Linked DNA regions of Homo sapiens: region 2 is linked to region 1. The links are contacts of gene promoters, found by promoter capture Hi-C in blood cells and fetal thymus (Javierre and others, 2016). All regions are on one chromosome and are shown on one strand. The core of a region is centred on a gene start or on the middle of the fragment in contact, and the rest is flanking DNA. Distances in the headings are between cores, read along the strand shown.

Region 1 (3,829 bases), core at 896-3,395:
TACAACCACCCCTGCCTACCTTTAGATAAAGAGGCAAAAATAAGTAATTCCACAAGAGGCCTGGCTCAGCTTCACCAGATAAGCAAAAGGCAAGGGCAGGAGCTGCAAGACTGACAAGGAAGCCTGCACTCCAGCTTGGGGACCTACAGCAAAGCTGAGTCAAACGAGATTGCTTCTCAGGGACACAGGCACTCACATTTCACTGGAACAACGTGAAGATGTTAAGAGGCTAAGTAACAACAAAACCCTACCTGTTTTTACATAGCCAACGATCCCACCAGAAACAACCAGTGCTGTGTAGCCAAAGCCAAACCAATGCAAAGGCACTCTGAAAACACAAGAGAAGTCAGTGAGAAGTCAGTGCTAACCTGGATTTAAAAACAAACCATATTGTCATAGGATGGGGCTAAAAGGTAATCATTCCCCACAGGTCCTATGTGCCCACAGGTACTATCACTGAAAATAAGCACCACAGAGGTTGGATGACTTTCTGAGAGTCACACAACTAAGCAAAGCTAGAGCTGGGACTCAAACCCAAGTTTCTGGCCCACAGGTCCAGTGATCCTCCCATCCCGCACGCCATCCCAGGCAGTCTACTCTTAGGGTTCTTTTCAGCTGAGGAAAGGAACTCTGGTTTCCAGAAGCTCCTGGCTACTCTCTAACCATTTACTGTCTACTCACAATGGGAAGAGGGGCTTCTCCATTCTTCTCTTCTCAGTCCAGAAAGGAGACTACCCCAGGCCTGCATCTGGGGAAAACAAGCCGGATCAGCAGTGGTTAAAAGCACAGCTCCCCAGCAGTCAGAAAGAAGTGTGTCCAACCTGCAGGCTATGCAACCTAAGTCTCAGTATCCTTCACTGTACCATGAGGATAACACTGGTACCAATTTCCTGGGGGTGTTGTGAGCATTCAATGGATGTCACATGTAAAGGTGCTTAGCACCTAGTAAACCCTGAACAGATGCCGATCATTTCACATAGGTCCACAGGAAACTCAGCAAGATCCACTGACCAGCTCTATAATCAGGGAATGTGTTAGTCATTTCATTAAGCACTCACATTATCACTAAATCGGAAAGCAAATACTCCCGTGCCCTTAATCCAACTACTTTAATGTCTCTTTTGAGGGGTGGTAGGGATGTTGCTTTTCTTCACTGATGCAACAGCCAATTTCAATACTCAATTTTTTTTTTTAGAAACTTCTGCATCCAACTCACAGTTCTCGTTAGGAGGGCAGAAGGGGAGGGTAAAATACACGGAAACTCAAGTCAGAATCACATGTGACATTGCACCCTTGGAAAAACAGCTCCTATTTTCTTACAGAAAAGTATTCTGTATGCAGTGAACCTAACAAGATGGAAAGCAATGCATACGCCGTTTATTCTGTTTAAAGAATTAGGCCAGGCAAAGTGGCTCACGCCTGTAATCCCAGTACTTTGGGAGGCCCAGGCAGGCGGATTACCTGAGGTTAGGAGTTCGAGAACAGCTTGGTCAACATGGTGAAACCCATATTCTATTAAAACACACACACACACACACAAATCGGGCATGATGGCATGCACCTGTAATCCCAGCTACTTGGGAGGCTGAGGTGGGAGGATGGCTTGAGCCCAGGAGGCAGAGGCTGCAATAAGACATATTCAGGCTACTGCACTCCAGGCTGGGCGACACAGCGAGAACCCCTCCCCACCCCCCAAAAAAAGAAAGAATTAATTTCCCATAAAACGGGGAAGGGCAGCGGGCTTGGGATCTTGCCCACAGTTCTTAACTCGAGGCGGCACTGAGTAAGGGAGGCTTTTAAAGAGCTGGAGCAACAAAACCACCAGGAAACGAGGCAACACTATGCTACAAGGGTAAGCCTTTGCCTCAGGAGCTCAGGTGCTCCGAGCATCCACAGCCTCTTTTAAGACAAGCAGAAAATACCCAAGGAGAAAAGCACCGACCACACGGCATAAAGGCCCGCTGAATCGGGGGGACGAAAAGCAGACGGCCGTGAAACTCCTAAATAATCCCTAAAAGTTAAAAGTGGCAGAAAATAAAAACAATACTCTCCAAAGACCTGCACCGACCTGCCGAAGGCCCGCGGAGTCCACTACGGAGCGCAAGCCGCGGGACACAGCAGCCAGGTCTCTCCGGAAACGCGATTGCGTGCGCGCTGCGCCCCGGGGCCGCGGCAGGGCGGGGAGAAAGGCGGGACGTCGTGGCGCGTGCGCAGTGTCCTTGGAGAGAGGTGAGCGGAGAATGGGGACAGTGGGGGCGGGGCTTGAGCCGCGGATTACCAGCACGCGCCCTGCATCCCGGGGGCGGGGAGTGAGGCGGGGCATCGCGGCTAGCGCCGTTGGCGGGGAACCGGGCGGGGAATCTCTGTGCTTCCTCAGTCCCCAGGCCCAGCACCTGCAGGGCCGACCAGCTCCAGTCCCAGGTCCAATCCTGAGTGGCCAAAAGCCGGAAACCCGGAGTTGGAATTGGATCTTGCACAAGCTGGACCACGTAAGCTGGGCCAGGCCAGAGGTGGAGGCCACCGCTGCGGGAGGAGGGCATCTGATGATTTTGAAGGACCCCATTAATAGAGGGTATAAACCAGGTGCGGGCCATCAGGGAGGATTGTCACTCTGGCCCGATCTTGTTTGTTTACACCAGGAAGGGCCTGCCTTCCACCTGCAAGAAAATATGGCAGCTGCAGAATAATGTGGCGCAATGCCAAATATCCGTTTGTTTTAGGGAGTGAGGCTACTTGAGAAGCATCTTAAATGGGGAGAGAGAGCAAGTTAAATCTGATTTCCACGCAGCTCTGTGGATTCCGAATGTCCACAGTATGATGTTATCTCCATTCCCACTTCCGAGCCGCTCCTCTTCTGTGTTTCCTGCACCACCATTCGCTCAGTTGCTCTACACTAAAATTTGCTGTCATCGTTGACTTCTCCCTCTCCTTCATCCCCTACAAGTATCAACATAGACAACTCCGATCAATATAATCATCAGTGAATAAAGCAAATTGCAGCGCATATTCTTAAAGACAAACTTTCCACTTGCAGCAGCACCTACCTTCCAGATAGCTAAATTGAAGCCCGTGTTTATCATAGCTGCTTCTAACCAGCCAGAGCTGATAATAACTAAGAACTTGCAGGAATTGCAGTATGCCAGACCTTCAATTTAATTGAAGACTTTCCTGAACAATTAATGAGACTTGTCTTAACCAGCAGGGAATGGCTTTAGGGACTCATTCTTCCCTATGCAGGTGCAAGCCTCAAACCTTAATTAGGATCATCCACCATGATCCTCGAGCCCTTCCCCACCTTATACTTGAAGAGGCTGAACCTCAGAGAATTAAATTACCTACAGTCCTGGTCACTGGTAGAGCTATTATTTAAAGTAAGGTCTAATGTCAAAGCCTGCGTCCTTAATTCTACCATATGCTGCTTCTTGCAGTGTCGTTCCTCAACCAGAACACATAGCTCTTCTGTGTAGGTAAAGTCCATCAAAACATGTCATAAAATAAATTAAAGAAATTGGTTTCTGCTCTATTTCAATTAGTACCAGAGTAAAACAATCAATGATTTGTGTTTGGGAATATTTCTAGTTGGCATTAACGTTGTTAGGAGATAGCTTAGCTCTTCACTGGGGGCCCACTGAATTATCGGAACCCTGGAACACAAATGTGTCAAAAGGGTGTAATCAAAATTATGTCAGGGAATGTTAAGTTTCTAGTCTTTGGTCACTGAGGCCTATCAGTAGGTTTGGGTGTTTTGTTTTGTTTTTCCCACAAAGAGGCTTTGAGTAAGAATTGTGTCTGGTAGACAAACACAGGTACACACACAGGTGTGTACTCA
Region 2 (3,829 bases), core at 1,317-3,816, 250 kb after region 1:
CTTCTCATGTGCCCACTTCCCCTTTGACCTTCTCTGCCATGTTTTGACGTAGCACAAGAGCCCTTACCAGCAGCCAAGCAGAAGCCAGTGCCATGCTTCTTGTACAGCCTGCAGAACCATGAGCCAAAAAAGTACCTTTTCTTTTTTTTTTTTAAAGGATGTTCTCTGATCACGTGGAATTAAGTTGGAAATCGGTAACAGGAAGATATCTGGAAAATGCCCAAATATTTGGAATTTCAGACCATACTTCTAAATAATTCGTAGTCCAAAAGAGACACTAAAAGGGAAATTAGAAAGGACTTTGTGCTTAATGAAAATGAAAACATGATGTATCAAAATTTGTGGGATTCAGCTAACGCAATGCAGAGAAAAATTTACAGCATGAAATACCTACATTAAAAAAGAAGAAAGTTCTCTCATCAATGACTTCAGTTTCCTCTCTAACAAAATAAAGCAAGAGGCTATATTAAACCCAAACCATGCAGAATCAAAGAAATACTAAAGATAGGAACAAAAATCAATAAACTGAAAAACAGGAAAAAAATGGGGAAAAAAAAATCAATGAAGGCAGAAGCATGTTTTTTTTTTTTAAGATTAAAATTTTTTTTCTTCAACTTTTAAGTTCTGGGGTACATGTGCAGGATGTGCAGGTTTGTTACATAGGTAAATATGTGAGAAGCATGTTCTTAAAAATAAAGACCAATAAAGTTGATTTTTTAAATAATGAGGAAAAGATTTGAACAGATTATTAAAGAAGACACACAGAAGGTAAATAAATACCTGAGAAGATATTCAAAATCATTATTCATTGCAAGCTTAGTGCTAATTAAAATCACAAGGAAATATTGTTATAATCCCACTAAAATAGCGAAAATTAAAGAGATTGGCCATACCGTGTGTTGGTGAGATGTGAATCAACTGGAAATTTCCTATCCTGCTGGAAATGTAAAATCACACAAACACTTTGGACAATAGTTCAGTAGTTTCCTAAACTCTTAAATATACCCGTCGTAAGACCTATCCATCCCCTCTAGGTACAATTGCTTCTCATTATTCGAGGTAGTTATTTCTATAAAGTTGCCACAAACTGAATTAGCTAACTCTGAAATATTGTCGCTAGAGGATATATATCTAACATGGATTATAATCTTAAATCTCCAAGACAACTCATCCTGATTGATTTTCTTTTATTTTATAAAAGAGAAAACTATGTTCCAAAGTGTTAAGAGTCTTGCCTGAGATACTCCACCAAGGGGCGTTTTCTGCTACTGATTTCCAACTTAATTCCGTGTGATCAGAGAATATTCTTTTAAAAACATCCAAGGTCCTAATGCTCCGGGATCTACAGGCGCCGGAGGTGAGATTCAGATCTGTCCAGCTGGCCCCACAGCTGCAACTTTTTGCCCTATAATGTATAATGTTCCCTCCCGTTTCTCTTTTTTTTTTTTTTTTGAGATAGAGTCTTGCTCTGTCGCCCAGGCTGGAGTGCAGTGGCATGCTCAATCTCAGCTCACTGCAACCTCCACTTTCCAGGTTCAAGCGATTCTCCTCCCTCAGCCCCCTGGGTTGCTGGGATTACAGGCGCCTCCACCACGCCTGGCTAATTTTTTGTATTTTAGTAGAGATGGGGTTTCACCATGTTGGCCAGGCTGGTCTCGAACTCCTGACCTCACGTGATCCACCTGCTTCGGCCTCCCAAAGTGCTGGGATTACAGGCATGAGCCACCATGCCTGGCCCCGTCTCTATTTTCTAGTCACCTCTGTGTATGAGCTGAAACAAGAAAGTAGAGTCATCTTGTTCAACCTTAGCTGGGAATGTGCAAGCCTGGGAACTTAGACTTTTGGCAGCTCTGCACATATGGGCAAGTGACCATGAATACTACTTGTAAGGTTAATACTTTTGGGGTTACACAAACATGTTAATGAGTAGGTGAATTTAAAACACATAACCCGCAAATAAGGATCAACTATATTTATTCCAGGGAATTCAAATCATATGTTGGTATATACTCTTGTATATAGCTGTTTATGACATCTTTATTTAAAAAAAAAAAAAAAAAAAAAGCCTGGCACAGGGGCTCATGCCGGTAATCCCAGGACTTTTTGAGGCTGGATGGGCAGATCACAAGATCAGGAGTTCGAGACCAGCCTGTCAACATGGTGAAACCTCATCTCTACTAAAAATACAAATATTAGCCATGCATGGTGGCGTGCGCCTTTAATACCAACTACTCGGAGGCAGAGGCTGTAGTGAGCTGAGATCGCGCCACTGCACTCCAGCCTGGGTGACAGAGCAACACTCCATCTCAAACAAATAAAAAAAAAGTGGAAGTAATACTAATGTCTATCAGCAGGTGAATGGATTAAAAAAAGTATGGTATAGTCATACAAGGGAATACTTCCCAGTAATAAAAGGAGTAAACTATTAATACGTGCAACAACATGGACAAACCTCAAAATATTAATGCTGAAAGAAGCCATACCAGAAAACAAAGTTCCTGCTATAAGATTTCATTAATATAGAAATCTAGAAAATGCAAACTAAAAGTGCAAACTTTCTATAGCGACAGAAAGTCAATCAGCAGTTATCTGGAAGGGAGACATCTCAAAGGGACCCGGGGAAACCTTTTGGGGCTGATGAATATGTTCTGTGTTTTACTGAAGTGATGATTTCACAGATATTTTAATAAGTTAAAACTCATCAATTGTACATGTATGTGAAGTTTATCTCAATTATATCTCAGTGTTGCTAGGTTGGGTGGAATATGGGAGAAAGAAAAAATTAAATTGGTATAGTAATCTATATCCATTAAATTCTATAGAATGGGGCTGGGTGCCGTGGCTTATGCCTGTAATCTCAGCACTTTGGGGGGTTCGAGGCAGGCGGATCACCTGAGGTCAGCAATTGGAGACCAGCCTGGCCAACATGATGAAACCCCGTCTCTACTAAAAATGCAAAAAAATTAGCTAGACATGGTGGTGCACACCTGTAAACCCAGCTACTGGGGAGGCCAAGGCAGGGGACTCGCTTGAACCCAGGAGGTGGAGGTTGCAGTGAGCCGAGATTGTGCCACTGCACTCCAGCCTGGGCAACAGAGCAAGACTATGTCTCAATAAATAAATAAAATTCTATAGAATGGTTATTACATTAGTAAATTAAAATCTAGCTGGGCGCAGTGGCTCACACCTATAATCCCAGCACTTTGGGAGGCCAAGGCAGGTGGCTCATGAGATCAGGAGATCGAGACCATCCTGGCTAACACAGTGAAACCCCATCTCTACTAAAAATACAAAAAATTAGCCGGGCATGGTGGCAGGCACCTGTAGTCCCAGCTACTTGGGAGGCTGAAGCAGGAGAATGGTGTGAACCCGGGAGGTGGAGCTTGCAGTGAGCCGAGATCAAGCCACTGCACTCCAGCCTGGGCGACAGGGTGAGACTCCGTCTCAAAAAATAAATAAAAGATGAAAAATAAATAAATAAAAATCTAATCTATTGAATAACTGAATTCTAATCTATTGAATTCAATAGAATGGTTAAATACCAAATTAATGCATATTGTACTGCCTAAGATATGAATGAATGGAATGATATGGAATATTTGCAAACACTTGTAACACACAATGTGCCATGCGCTGTTCTGTGCTCTTTACATACAATGAATCATACTCACAGCAACCCTATGAGAGGGATACTATTATTATCCTCCTTTTACCCAAGAAAAATATGAGGCACTGAGAAGTTGATTAACTCTCCCAAGGTCACACAGGCTTGAAGCCATAGAACCACGTCTCAAAAGCAGGCAGTTTGGTGCCAGAATCCATGCTGTTA

Evidence for each region. Contacts are between HindIII fragments. The CHiCAGO score rates a contact against its expected background, and 5 or more counts as called.
Region 2: a contact is called between a fragment that was not itself captured here and the fragment with the promoter of TMEM14B in region 1, in 5 of 17 cell types (naive B cells, M2 macrophages, erythroblasts and 2 more). The highest score is 8.2, in naive B cells.

The regions. Positions count from the first base shown.
Region 1 is chr6:10,746,121-10,749,949 of GRCh38, reverse strand. TMEM14B (transmembrane protein 14B) reads right to left here and starts at 2,145. Exons shown (of 6, transcript NM_030969.5): 1 at 2,069-2,145; 2 at 682-748; 3 at 252-328. The coding sequence starts at 704. It overlaps TMEM14B-DT (TMEM14B divergent transcript), which reads left to right and starts at 2,366. Exons shown (of 2, transcript NR_187231.1): 1 at 2,366-2,489. RefSeq lists silencers at 2,116-2,175, 2,131-2,351, 2,186-2,415 and an enhancer at 2,536-2,585. The HindIII fragment of the contact is 12,296 bases long and covers 1-3,829 here.
Region 2 is chr6:10,498,019-10,501,847 of GRCh38, reverse strand. No RefSeq gene overlaps it. Among named protein-coding and RNA genes, the nearest start is that of LINC02522, 18 kb to the right of the region's middle. The HindIII fragment of the contact is 3,498 bases long and covers 818-3,829 here.